Linked DNA regions of Homo sapiens: regions 2, 3 and 4 are each linked to region 1. Evidence: promoter capture Hi-C in 16 types of primary human blood cells and fetal thymus (Javierre and others, 2016). All regions are on one chromosome and are shown on one strand. Each heading gives the region's core, a stretch centred on a gene start or on the middle of the fragment in contact. The rest is flanking DNA. Distances are from core to core; before and after follow the strand shown.

What was found. The method cuts DNA at HindIII sites, captures the fragments that hold promoters and counts their contacts. A CHiCAGO score of 5 or more calls a contact.
Region 2: the fragment with the promoter of C1orf35 here is called in contact with the fragment with the promoter of CCSAP in region 1 in 10 of 17 cell types (neutrophils, total B cells, fetal thymus and 7 more); the score reaches 16.9 in neutrophils.
Region 3: a contact is called between a fragment that was not itself captured here and the fragment with the promoter of CCSAP in region 1, in 2 of 17 cell types (non-activated CD4 T cells and naive CD8 T cells). The highest score is 5.4, in non-activated CD4 T cells.
Region 4: the fragment with the promoter of GUK1 here is called in contact with the fragment with the promoter of CCSAP in region 1 in 10 of 17 cell types (total B cells, neutrophils, fetal thymus and 7 more); the score reaches 13.1 in total B cells.

The regions. Positions count from the first base shown.
Region 1 is chr1:229,341,738-229,345,289 of GRCh38, forward strand. It overlaps CCSAP (centriole, cilia and spindle associated protein), which reads right to left and starts at 1,310. Exons shown (of 4, transcript NM_145257.5): 1 at 1,175-1,310; 2 at 362-776. The coding sequence starts at 728. RefSeq lists silencers at 359-558, 759-1,618, 2,465-2,759. The HindIII fragment of the contact is 1,840 bases long and covers 1-1,773 here.
Region 2 is chr1:228,101,520-228,104,707 of GRCh38, forward strand. It overlaps C1orf35 (chromosome 1 open reading frame 35), which reads right to left and starts at 1,806. Exons shown (of 8, transcript NM_024319.4): 1 at 1,615-1,806; 2 at 1,380-1,530; 3 at 1,124-1,169; 4 at 959-1,041; 5 at 791-863; 6 at 561-646. The coding sequence starts at 1,708. RefSeq lists enhancers at 1-572, 573-1,292, 1,293-2,013, 2,014-2,733 and silencers at 641-720, 971-1,140, 1,301-1,570. The HindIII fragment of the contact is 8,620 bases long and covers 1-3,188 here.
Region 3 is chr1:228,166,432-228,169,719 of GRCh38, forward strand. All of the region lies in intron 1 of IBA57 (iron-sulfur cluster assembly factor IBA57), which reads left to right. Among named protein-coding and RNA genes, the nearest start is that of IBA57, 2.3 kb to the left of the region's middle. RefSeq lists a silencer at 1-4. The HindIII fragment of the contact is 1,242 bases long and covers 709-1,950 here.
Region 4 is chr1:228,138,960-228,142,244 of GRCh38, forward strand. It overlaps GUK1 (guanylate kinase 1), which reads left to right and starts at 1,320. Exons shown (of 8, transcript NM_001159390.2): 1 at 1,320-1,404. The coding sequence starts at 1,344. RefSeq lists enhancers at 947-996, 1,107-1,336 and a silencer at 1,347-1,906. The HindIII fragment of the contact is 28,593 bases long and covers 1-3,285 here.

The DNA of each region.
Region 1 (3,552 bases), core at 60-2,559:
TGATCAAAAATGGGCGCCTAGAAATAAGCAGATGGGACTCAGTGGTTCGCCAAGAAATAAGATGGGATTCAGAGGTTTGCCAAGCCGCAGAGGCCCGCGAGGAAAGACCCCAGACTCAGCCAGCGGCGCTTCAATTGAGTTCACCGCTGGCTCGACCGAAAGCCACCTAATTAAGGAAATAAAGGGTGGCAAAGGCTGCCACCTTCCCTATTTTGTCAAGAGAGACGGATTCTGTCAACCGAAAAAAAAAAAAGGAAGAGCCAGCCCCGAGTGGCGCAAGAAATAAGAGATCAGCTGCTCAGAGCTTAGAGCAAACCGTCCCTGCGTGCAGGCCCCTCGCGCTCCCCTCCGGGCCGGGTACCTGGCAGAGCCGCGTCCTCCGCGTCCTCGGCCTCCGCGTCCCCGGCCTCCGCGTCCTGCTCCTCCGGGGCCCCGCGCGCCCGCCGTTCCGCCTCCTCCTGGGTCGCCGGCTCTACGGGCGGCGGGGGCGAGGGCGGGGCGCACCGGGGTGCGGGGCCCCCGGCGCCCGACGACTCTGACGACGCCGAGTCCTCCGAGGAGCCGGCCGGGCCCCAGTCGTCCCAGAGCCAGGGCGCGTGCGCCTGCTCCAGCAGCCGGCGGCCTAGGCGGTAGTGCAGCAGCTCGCGGTAGCACGGCCCGTACTCCTCCCAGCGCGGCTCCTGGTAGCGCTTCATGTACTCGCTCTTCACCCCGCTCCCCGGGGACATGGTGCCGTCCGCCGCCTCGAGCGCCAGCCGCTCCTCGCTGCCCGCAGCCTACGGGACCCGGTACACGACACAGAGGCCGCCCCGCCCCTCCGCCGGCCCTGCCCGCCGCGACGTTTAAACCCGGAGCCCCGCCCGGACGGGAGCAGGGGGCGGGTCCCGGCGAGGGCGGGGAGGGGGCGGGGCGGGGGCGGCCTCACCCGGCGGCCGGGACCAAGAGCAGAGGCGGGGACCGGGGCTGCTGGGGTCGAGGGGCGCGCCGCCGAGGAGGGCTGCTCAGTGGGCGGAAGGCAGGGAGGCTGCGGGCTGGGGCGAGGGGACCGCAGGAGACTGGGGCTGAGCGGGAGGAGGAGCGAGGGAGGGGAGCGGCGGGGCCCGTGATCGGGTGGTCCTGGGGTCTCCGGAGGCGTCCCCTGAGCTAGGCGTGCGGTCCCGCGGGGCTGCCTTACCTCCTTCCCGCCGCGCCCGGCCGATCCTCTGCGCCCAGGCCCGAGGCGCGCGTGGCGCAGCAGCTAAAGCGCAGCTCGCTCTCCCGCGCGCTTTCCTCCTGAGCAAGATGTCGCCGCGGCGGCCCGCGCTCCAGCTGCAGGCGGGAGGCGGTGGCGCCGCCTCAGTCCCGGAGCCTCCACGCGCGCTCCCGGCCCCCGGGCCTCCGCCCGCTCCGTGGGGGCGGCTGCTTCCGTAGAGAGCGCGAGGCGCGGGGGTGCGGGCGTGCCTGCCAGTCCGAGGGGCCCAGGCCCAGGTCCCTGGCCCACTTATTTGAGGTGCCCGTCCACCCTGGTCCCAGCAGACGCTGTCCCAGGCACGCGTCACTCTGCAGGAGTCGTCAGTTAGGGGCAAGAGATGATCCCTCCAGATATGCAGCCCCCCCAGGCTGCGGCCGGGGGCGACACTCTCTGTCCTCACTCGAAACCTACCGGTTCTTCCTCTCTGTGTTCACAACACCTGTTACTCTGGCTTTAACTCCCTTTTATATCTACACTCCCCAAATTCTTTTAGATTTTGATCAAAACCATTTCACTCGCTCAGAGATTCGTTTGCACATAAAAGCTTGACAGATTAACTTACGTTGTGCAGAAGTATACAAAGTTGTCCCATTTGTTACAGTTTCAAAAGTGGCCCCACACTCTTTTCCCTTTTTACACATAAAACCTTCACAGATCCAGTTACTTTGTGCAGAAGTATACAACGTTGCCCCATTTGTTACAGTTTCAAAAGTGGCCCCGCACTGTTTTCCCTTTTTGCTCATAAAACCTCCACAGATCCGGCTGAGCGCTGTGGCTCACGCCTGTAATCCCAGCATTTTGGGAGGCCGAGGCGGGTGGCTCACGAGGTCAGGAGATCGAGACCATCCTGGCTAACACAGTGAAACCCCATCTCTACTAAAAAAATAAAAATAAAAAGAATTAGCCCGGCGTGGTGGTGAACGGCTGTAGTCCCAGCTACTCGGGAGCCTGAGGCAGGAGAATGGCGTGAACCCGGGAGGCGGAGCTTGCAGTGAGCCTAGATTGCGCCACTGCACTCCAGCCTGGGCGACAGAGCAAGACTCCGTCTCAAAAAAAATAAAAAATAAAAAATAAAAACCTTCACAGATCCAGTTACATTGTACAGAAGAATACAACGTTGCCCCATTTGTTACAGTTTCAGAAGTGGTCCTGCACTATTTTCCCTTTCTTAAAAAAAGAGCCTTGATACAGTAGCTGCAAAAAGATTTGAAAGGAAAAAACTTTTGGAAAATCTAAATATATATATAGCAGTTAAAAAGCAAGCCCAGGCCGTGAGTAGCGCTCACGGCTTCCACGTCAGGATTCCCACGAATTCACCTACTTTCTACGTGTCCGCATCCTGCCTCCCACCACCACCGCCCACCTCATCATAGCTAAATGATTCAGAGGCGGCTACTGGCCCAAATGGGGCGGGTCAGACCGTCTGCTCTGAAAACTTGAAGTTACTAGTCCAATCATTAGCACGGGATTGTGTTAATGGCAGTTTTCTGGACGGAAACTCCAGGATACCCTGCTGCTAATGAGTCCGCGGACGCCATGATTTCTCCCCTTCCCAACTTTATTTTCTGTTCCTTGACTTACATTAGGGACATTCTAATGCACTTTCCTTTTGTTTAAGCTGGCTGGGGTTGGTTTCTGATGTTTGCAACCAAAGTAGCCTTAATAAAGATTGAATAAGGTGGGGAAATGGTTATATGTAGTTCTATGGGACATGCAGGACACCATCGGTTTCAGCTTTTGCTGCATAATTCACTCCAAAACTCAGTGGTTTAAAACAGCTAAGATTTATTATTTCTTATGATTCTGAGGGTTAGCTGGGCAGTTCCTCCGCAGTTGGATTCTGATGGAGAGACAGCAGGGCTGGAAGTTTCAAGATGACCTCCTGATATAGTTGGGATAATTCCTCCAAATCTGAAGTTGAAATTGATCCCCAATGTTGGAGGTGGGGCCTAGTGGGAAGTGTGTGGGTCATGGGGGCAGATCCCTCATGCATGGCTTGGTGCCATTCTTCAGTAACGAGTGAGTTCTCACTCTTTTAGTTTGCATGAGAGCTTGTTGTTCAAAAAGAGCCTGGCATGTCCTCCTCTCTCTCTCTCACTCCCTTTCTCTCTCCATGTGACATGACAGCTCCCCTTCCCCTTCCACCATGATTGGAAGCTCCCTGAGGCCTCACCAGAAGCAGATGCTGACACTGTGCTTCCTGTATAGCCTGCAGAACCATGAGCCAAATAAACCTGTTTTATTTATAAATTACCCAGCCTCCGGTATTCCTTTATAACAGCACAAAACAAACTAGTACACCTCCCTTACATAACTGGCAG
Region 2 (3,188 bases), core at 556-3,055, 1.2 Mb before region 1:
CAAGAGAGTGAACACAAGCAGGCCCCATCCAGATGAAGCCACCACCCACAAGTGCGTCTTTAAATCAGTTAAATCAAACTACAAATTCCACTCCTCAGTTACGTAGTCACGTGGCCAGTGGCTACGTGGGTTAGAAACAGATGCAATATCCCCATCTCCACAGCACGCCCCTGCCCCACCCCAGCCGTGCCCTTGGCAGGTTGACACCTTCCTACCTGCACCCACCAGGCCACTCTTAGGGTCAGGCCCAGGCTCACCATCCAGGAGAAGCCCTGGAGGTGCCACCCACGGCAGGAAAAGGCCCCGCCCCAGGTCCTGAGTGCCCTCCCACGGCACAGCGCCCGACCACTGCCAGTACTTAGGACCTCTCTTCAAGGGTGACCCGAGAAACTCCCCTAGAGAAAAACCTAGGAGTAACTGGGACAGGAAGTAAAGTAGGGCAGGCCACCCGCCGGGCCGGTGCGCCAAGAGAAGCTGCCACCTGCCCGAGTGGGAGCCGCTCCGGTCCTCCCGAGACCCCCCACCCCGGGGCACAGCTAGCCCAGGTGGCACAGCCTCACCTGCTTTCCGTCTGATCCTCCGCCCGCGGCTTCCTCCTGGCCGAGGCTGCCGAGGTCCCGGGCCCGCCGCTCTCTACGCGGTGATGCTGCGGGAGAAGCGAGCTCTGCGGAGGAGTCTGCGGGCCGGCCCCACACCACGCCCCGCAGCGCCCCGGGGAGCTCCGTTCAGTGCCCCCGCCCCGCCCCACCCCTGTTAGCCCCTGCTGCGGTCAGGCGGGGCGGGGGATTACCGTGAACACAGACAGCCCCAGTTTGGCGGCCTCCTTGTCCTCTCGGGACATCGCCACGCGGCCCACGGAGCCACTGCAGGGACATGGCGATGAAGACAGTACGGCAGGGGTCCGCCTCACCCGAGCAATCGAGCCCAGTGCTGCCCTCCCCTGGAAACCCGCCCGCACCTTGCGCTCCCCAGCCCCAGCAGCCGGTCCACGCCCTTCTCCTCGGGGTCGCCTCCTTCCCGCTTGCAGACCTCCGCGAAGTCCTGCAGGTGCGAGAGCACAGGGAGCGCTCGAGTCGGCCCCACACCCACGGCCCTCCACGCGCCCCCCACCCCGGGGAGTTACCTCCTTGCTCAGGCCCGTGGGCTGCTTCTTCACGTTCTTGTAGCCACTGCGAGAGGGCCGGGGCAGGCGTCAGGACGGACGGACCTCCTCCCACCACAGGTCCTCACCACTCCAGCCTTCGTCCTCAGGGTCCCGCCCGCGCGAGTCCCCGCAGCCCCGCTCCCGCCCAGCCCGACCCCCAGTCCCCGGCCCCGGCCCCACCCTGCCCCGGCAGCGCCGTCCCAGGCACCGACCGCTGCCGTCCGCGGACACTCACAGGGCGGCCAGCAGCGCCTCGCGCTCCGCCTCCCGCACGGCTGCCAGTTCCTCCTCGCGGCTCGGGCCCGCGCATGGCGCCCGGCCCTTGGCGTACCAGGTGAGGTCGCGGCCCTTCTGCCAGCGGCCTACCGGCGCCATCAGCGAGTTGCCTGCGGACGTAGACGCTGTGAGTCCAGCGCCCGCCCGGGATCCCGGAGCCCGGAGCCCGGAGCCCGCCCACCGCGCGCACCCACCCAGGTAGTTCTCCCGCTGCTTGTCAGTCTTCACGTCCTCCCAGTTGAACTGGTCCTGCCCGCCGCGCACGCCTCCACGACTGGAGCCGAACATGGCGCCGGGAAGGCAGTTGCCTGGGGCCTGCGGCTTGCAACCTGCAACCCGCAACCCGAGACCCGCTACCCACTACCGTCGGACCCAGGCCCGACCCCGCCTCCGCGTCGCGCGCCGTGACGTCACTCCCGCGCCCACTCGGCTTCGCCGCGCGCCTCTGCGCAGCGCACTGCCCCGGATCTGTGCTCCCGCGCATCACCTCCACGTCGGCTTTGGGCGCCTGCGCACTGCGCCTACCCTGCCGGGCGCGGGAACGCCTCTGAACTGGAAGTTTAAAAATGGTTAAAACGGGGCCGGGCGGAGTGGCTCTCGCCTGTAATCCCAGCAAGTTGGGAGGCCGAGGCGGGCGGATCGCTTGAGGTCGGGAGTTCGAGACTAGCCTGTCCAACATGGTGAAACCCGGTCTCTACTCAAATACAAAAATTAGCCGGGTGTGGTGGTGCACACCTGTAATTCCAGCTACTCAGGAGGCTGAAGCAGGAGAATCACTTGAGCCGGGAGGCAGAGGTTGCAGTGAGCCGAGATCGCGCCACTGCACTCCCGCCTGGGCGACAGAGCGAGACTGTCTCAAAAATAAGAAGTTAAAATGGGCCAGGCGCGCGCGCGCCCCTGTAGCCCCAACGCTTTGAGGCTGAGGCGGGAGGATCTCGAACCCAGGACTTCGCGCCACTGCACTCCAACCTGAACGAGTGAGCGGACCCTGTCTCATAAAAAAAGAAAAAAGAAAACACACAAGATGCGCCTAGTTAACACCGCCAATTGGTCACTGCTAGTCGCGATTCCATATCGGGAGCTTAACAAGGTAATGACCTTAATGATTTGTGGAATTTCTGAGTATTACCCAGTAAACTTCTGGATGAACCAGCAGCTACCCAGACACCCTCAGAGCACTGGTCCTATCCCTGCCGTGTTAAACTGAATGTGCACCCTAACTCCCATGTGAAATCCTCACCCCAAGGCGTTGGTGCTTCGGAGGTGACTAGGTCATGAGGACAGAGCCTTCATAAAAGGGACCCCAAGAGCTTTGTGCAGCTTTCTACTGTGTGAAGGCAGCGGGAAGGAAGTCTGCAGTCTGGAAGAAACCCCTTACCAGAACCTCAGCGTGCTGGGCACCCTGATTTTGGAGGTTGTGACGTACCCCTGCTTCCCCTTTCCACTTTCATTCCCAGTGCTGACTGAGAAACAGAGTCCCTTGGCCACTCTGTGACTTCGCCAACTGTATAATTTCCTCTGCAGACTTGAACCCGAGCCATAGCCATGAACGTTCCCAGGCACAGATGACAGTAACTAGGTTGTTGCTCAAAACACAGAAAGAAACTGGACTCAGCCTGAGCCAGATTCCTCAAACCCTCATATAAATTCCATTCACCAACCCCCTCCCCCACGGACATACCTAGAGAGAACTTCATTTCTCTCACTGCCTATTGCAAGAACTGCTGCAGCCCACTCTGTACAAAAGCCCCACGAATAAATGCTCTGG
Region 3 (3,288 bases), core at 80-2,579, 1.2 Mb before region 1:
CAACACCCAGGGATGGGTCAGCGACTCATCCAGGGGAGGCCTGGGGGCCAGCCCACCATATCAGAGCAGAGGCGTCTCTAGGTGGGCACCTCCCAAGTGGGCCATCTGGTGACCCTTCTCCCTCCGCAGGGACAAGGGGTTCAGGGGCCCCGCCTGGTGGCAGAGCTGTGTTTCTGAGTGACAGCTTGTGGTGACACTCCCGAGTTCTGTTTACCTTGTGTTTCCCTGTGTCTCCCCATAGCTGGTCACATTGGCATTTGGCTCAGTCATCTGTGCTGACATCACGACTGTCAGTGATGTTCATGCCGGGTCAGGGCCTTGACTGCTTACAGCCTTGGGTTTCCCTTGCCCAGCTTCCAGGGACCTGGATCCCTGAAACCTCCGCCCGGTGGAGTGGATCTGGTTCGCGGCCGCCTGCCTGCTGTCCCTGCTATGGCGGACCCGGTTCTTGTTCTCTTCAGCTTACTCCTGTGTTTTGGTTTCAGGGGATGGACACCTTTTTAATGACTTCCTGAGCTACGTGGGGTGAATTTTTGGACTCATTGTGTCTCTGCTAGTGGCTTTACCTGATATCCTGGCTGGGTGTAAAAATCTAGCTTGGAAATTGTCACCGACAATGTTCACATCACAACTTTGTTTTCTCGCTGCCAGCTTTTCTGAGAAGTCTGGTGCCGTTCTTATTTGTATGTGAACTGTGTTTTTCTCAGAAGCTTTTCTTTATTCTTGATGTCGTGAAATGTCATGCTGATGTGTCTTAGTTTGGGCTTTTTCCATATCACATCTCTGGGCACTTAGTGGGCTCTTTAAATCTAGAACCAGAGTTGGTGAAATACGGCCCTGAGGTCAGACCCAGCCCATTGCCGGTGTTTATAATAAAATTCTCTGGGAACCCCACCCGTTGGATTCCAGGTGGTCTGGGGCTTCTTTTTTTTTTTTTTTTTTGAGACGGAGTTTTGCTCTTGTTGCCCAGGCTGGAGTGCAATGGCACAATCTTGGCTCATTGCAACCTCTGCCTCCAGGGTTCAAGAGATTCTCCCGCCTCAGCCTCCCAAATAGCTGGGACTACAGGTGCCTGCCACCATGCCCGGCTAATTTTTGTATTTTTAGTAGAGACAGGGTTTCACCATATTGGCCAGGCTGTTTTCACACTCCTGACCTCAGGTGATCCACCCGCCTCGGCCTCCCAAAGTGCAGGGATTACAGGTGTGAGCCACTGTGCCCGGCCTGGGGCTGCTTTTGTCTGGAGTGGTAGAGTTGTGGCACGAGTGTGGCCCTCAAGCCTAAGTTATTCACTGGCCCTTTACAGAAAAAGTGTGCCCACCCTAGCTCAATAGGCTTAAATCTTCATGTCCCAGTTCAGAGATATAGTCATCATAGTCTGTCTTATGTATTCATTACATTCTGTCTAGCTGCTTTAATTTCTTCATCTTAAGAACTACATTCTTTGATTCTCTGGAGCCTTCTATGTTAGTACTTTGCTGTTCACATGTTAGCCTTACAATGATGTTGATTTTGGTCCCCAAATTCCCTTCCATATTTCTATAGTCCTCTCTTGTCCTTTTCCCTTTGAGTCCTAGTTCAATTGAATTCCTATTCTTAATAAGTGTTTTGTGGTGTAAAGTACAGCTGACTTTGCACTACATAGGTCACTTATGCGTGGATTTTCCTTCACCTCTGCCACCCTGAGACGGCAAGACCAACCCTTCTTCTCCTTCCTCCTCCTCAGCCTACTCAACATGGAGACCATGAGGATGAAGATGTTTATGTTGATCCATTTCCATTCAGTGAAGTGGAACTACATTTCCTCTTCCTTAGGATTTTCTTCCTGGGATTTGTAGCTTACCGTATTGTAATACAGTATATAATAGCATAAAACATAAAAAATATGTGCCACTTGACTGCGTATGTTATGCATAAGGCTTCCAGTCAACAGGAGTCTGTTAGTAGTTAAGCTTTTGGGGAGTCAAAGCTTAAAGGTGGGTTTTCAACTGTGTGGGGGCCAGTGTCCCTAGCCCTTGCATCATTCAAGGGTCAGCTGTCTGTCCTTTCTGTGTCTCAGGGCTTTTTCCTCTTCATCCTTTCTTGCCTGGTCTGGAGCTTGTCTGCAGACCTACTGGGCCCCAGCTCCCCTTACCAAGCATATGCTTGGTGGCTCCTCTGTGTCTTTCTATTTGCTCTCATTGTGGGGGTCTCTGTCCTCGAGGTCTGCAGGAGGAGTTAATTTTCTTCACTTGTGCTGGGTGTCTGGTGTGTCCGCCACTGTTCTGAGTGCTGAGGGCATTGGAGGCGGCTCTGTTCTTCCCCAGCTCAGCACTGAAGGGTGACGTCATCCAACTCTGGTCTCCCTTCTGAGATGTGACACAACGTCACAGGCCAGGGAGCTCCACTCTGAGGGGTCAGGTGGGGCGGGACCATCCTCCGTGGGATTCAGCATCTGTGTAATAATACTTGAAACCCTCTAGCTTCAGTTCTGTTGGAGTTCATGGCCCTGTTTCTCCTCAGCCGTCAGAAGAGGGACACAACAAGGTTACCTCCTTGAGTGTCTCCCCAGGGGTGGTGGGTGACAGGTGTCCAGATGCCACCCCTCCCAGCTATGTGGCATGGGTGGGCTTAGGGCTGCGCTCGTTGGGCACGTTTAGTTCAGTTCATGAGAGTGTAAACTCTTTTCCTTGTCGGGCTGCTGTTGGCTGTTGACCTCCCTCTCTGTGGTTTGCCCCCTCTGGTCACTCCTCTGGGGAGAGGGCAGCCTGCAGGTCAGGGACCACCTCTCCCTGGAAGCCTCTGTGTGTTCCTGCTTCTCTGGTCATTCCCTGCCCATCATTCCTTTATGGTTTTTTCCTGACTGTAGGATTTTTTATTTCAACTTTGATACTTAATATATCATCCTGAGCCATCGCTTCCTTAAAGCACCCTATTCTTGTTTCCTGAATGTAGCACCTTCTTTCAGATGAAACTATAGTTATTTGGTTGTTGTCTTTTAATAGGAGTTGCTTTTTAGAGCAGTTTTAGGTTCTCAGCAAAAGAGCAGAATGTGCAGAGATTTCCCATATTACCTCACAACTTCCCCCACCAGAGTGCTATTTTCGTCACAACTGATGAACCTCTGTTGACATGCCATCATCACTTGGAGTACAGTTTCCATGAGGGCTCACTCTTGGCTTGGTGTGTTCATGAGTTAGGCAAATGTATGATGACACATGTCTACCATCGTAGCATCACATACAGTAGTGTCACTGCCTTGAAATCCTCTGTGCCCTGCCCATCCATCCATCTCCCCTAACTCCTGGC
Region 4 (3,285 bases), core at 70-2,569, 1.2 Mb before region 1:
CTCCTGCCTCAGCCACCCCAGTAGCTGGAATTACAGGGGCCCACGACCACACCCAGCTGATTTTGTATTTTTAGTAGAGACAGAGTTTCACCATTTTGGCCAGGCTAGTCCCAAACTCCTGGCCTCAGGTGATCTGCCTGCCTCGGACTCCCAAAGTGCTGGCATTACAGGTGTGAGCCACTGCACCCAGCCTTCAATAAATCTTTTTTAAAAATTTAAAATAATTTTTAGAAATAGAGTCCCGTGGCCAGGTGCAGTGGCTCACGCCTGTAATCCCAGCACTTTGGGAGGCCAAGGTTGGTGGATTACCTGAGGTTAGGAGTTCAAGACCAGCCTGGCCAACATGGTGAAACCCTGTCTCTACTAAAAATACAAAAATTAGCTGGGCGTGGTGGCGGGCGCCTGTAATCCCAGCTACTCGGGAGGCTGAGGCAGGAGAATCGCTTGAACCTAGGAGGCCCAGGTTGCAGTGAGCAGAGATGGCGTCACTGAACTCCAGCCTGGGTGACAAGAGCGAAACTCCGTCTCAAAAAATAAAAAAAGAAAGAAATAGGGTCTCGCTCTGTCACACAGACTGGAGTGCAGTGACACGAACACCGCTCACTGCAGCCTCGACTGCCCAGGCTCAAGCGACCGTCCCACGTCAGCCTCCCGAGTAGCAAGGACTACAGGCACAAAAAAGTTTTTAAATTTTTTGGTACAGAAGGGGTTTCCCTATGATCCCCAGGCTGGTCTCCAATTCCTGGCCTCAAGCGGTCCTCCCGGCTCGGACTCCCAAAGAGCTGGGATCACAGACGTGAACCACGCGCCCGGCCACATTCCCCAATTAATGGTTTTTGGAGAGTGGCCGGTTTGGAACGGGCTAGCGGAGTCGTTCGTTAGTTAGGTCCCTGCAGTGTAGATGGAGGACGGAAACGGCGCTGTGACATAAGCGGGAGGAGGCGGGCTGAGGCAGCGCTGTGACGTAGCAGATGAAAGCCGGGCCCGCGCTGCACTGAGGTACTTCTCTGAGTGACAAGCGGGACAAGTACGCCGTGGGCGGGGCCGGCGGGTCGTGATGTTAGTTCGCGCTGTGTGGAGGCGGGCCGGCGTGGCGCTGTGACGCAGCGGGAGAAGACGGGCTGGGAGGGCGCTGTGCTGAACGCCCCTGCGGTCGCGACAGGCCAGCGCAGGTGGAGGCGGGGCTAGCGAGGCACTGAGGTAAGTACTTCCCTAAGGGGCGGGGAAGAACGAGTGAGACATGGGCGGGGCAGTCGCCTCATGACGTCAGTCTCGCGCGCGGGCGGAGGTGGGCCGGTGCGGCGCTGTCACGTAGGTTCAGTGGGCGGAAGAGGTGGCCCCGGATGCTGCGGCGCCCGCTGGCCGGGCTGGCTGCGGCCGCCCTGGGCCGGGCCCCACCGGACGGTGAGTACGACAAGCGCGATCGCGAGGGTGACTCGGGTCGAGGCGGCAGCGGTCCCTGCGCTTTGCGGTCGCCCAGTCCACGCCGCCTCCGGATCTCCTCCTAGCCGAGACGCCCTGTGCCGCATTCAACTGTGGGCCCTGAGAACGGGGGAGCTCTGGAGGGCGGACGGGCTGGCAACGCAGCGGAGCCCGGGTCCCGGAGGGCGGGGCGCTCCTCAGGAGCTGGGCAGGCCGGCAGTTATCGCAGTGTCGAGCTGCTCCCCGGGCGTATAGGAGCGCTCGGTGTCTTCCCGACACCTGGGCGCGCCGCCAAAGAGAGCAGCTGGGAGTCCCTACCGCTGGCCCGGCGCGGTGTGCGCTCCGGTTCCCACCTCACCCTGCAAGCCTTGGGGTCCTGGGCGGATGGAGCCGGCTATTCCGGGGCTCCCAGGATTCTGCCTACTCCGCGGCACGGCGCAGAGACGGGGACTTGGGGAAACAGCAGGCCTTCCCGACGCATGGGTGTGGCATTTGGGGTTCGGATTCTCCAAAGCCAGAGTCCGGGTTGGGGTTCTTGAAGCTGCCCTGCTGCCATTCTTGAGCGTCGCCTTAGAAGTATGCCCCAGTAAGGACTGGTGTGGGAAGCAGGTGCCTCAAAGTTGATTTTGACCCTGCGTGTGGTGGGCCTCGGTTTCGTCTTTGCATGAAAGAGGTCGGTCCTGAGGCCCCGGGCTGGGTCCTGCTCTGCTGTCTTTGGGCTCATGGCCCCTTCCTGTCTCAGGCTTGCTCTGCTCTTTACCTGGGGTTGCTGTCGAGGACCCTGTGCAAGACTCGGCCGGTTTTTCTTTCTCCCTGATGGACAGACCCAAACATAGCCGCGCAGCATCGTGAAGGGCTGGGGCCTTCACTCCTCTGTGGCTCTGGAAGAGCCCGATTTCCTCAGGAGGTAAAGGAATGTTCCTGTCCCCCCCGGGGAAAGAAAGTGAAAATGAAAGCGCCCTGGCTGCTCCTGGTGTGGTCCCATTTAAAACGAGGTTGCTGAAGGCCAGGATGCGTGCTACCCGGATGTGTGCCCAGAAACCCTGCAGCCAAGAGCAGCCGCCTGGACCACCAGCCTCCCCTTCATCCACCTGGCCCAGCCCAGAGCCCAGGCCCACGTCTGGTGGTTTGTGTCTTACGAGAGGCCAGGCGGGGGCTGAATTCTCTCGGTTCTCAGAAGGTCAAGCCCTCTGTTAGCATCTCCTCGAACAGTGGGCCGGGGGCAAGGTGGTGACTCTGTTCAGTCCTTAGGATGGCTGGAAGCCAGAAGGAGGAGATTATGCCGCCACAGCAGGGAGTGCCTTTCCAGGAAAGCGGCTGCTGGGGCAGCATGGGAGCCCAGTCCAGGGAGCGTTCTGGCAGAGACCATTCCGGAACATGGATCTGCGCCGGCGGCTCCCAGGAGACCTTCCATCTCGGAGCTCCTGTGGAGACCACGTGCCTGGCAGGTCCTTACAGTTGTGGGTTGTGTGGCTTCTTGCCAGGCAGCTGATTGGAGTTTGCGACTGTGGGTTGGTGAGAGTGGAGAGCACAGAATGTTTGCTGGAATGCTTCCCTCTGCCCACAGGAAGACACCTTTGGCGCATGTGTTCTGGTCAGGGCAAAGGCTCCGTGGTTTCCACCGCAAGATTGCAGGAGCCTTGAGGCCTGGGCCACAGTTTTCTCCCTTGGGTGTGCTCCATGGAAGGTGGCTTTGGTGACCGCCCTGCCACTGGTCTCTCCCCAGGCAGGCAGGCAGCCTGTGCCTCCGCCCTGTCTCCAGCGGTGGTGGTGTGGCTGTGCTTCTGCAAGGCCCGCATCCACTCACTGTCTGCCCTCTGCACTCTCTGGCTGGCCAGGGCCCCCAGTAGTCTGCTCATTGTG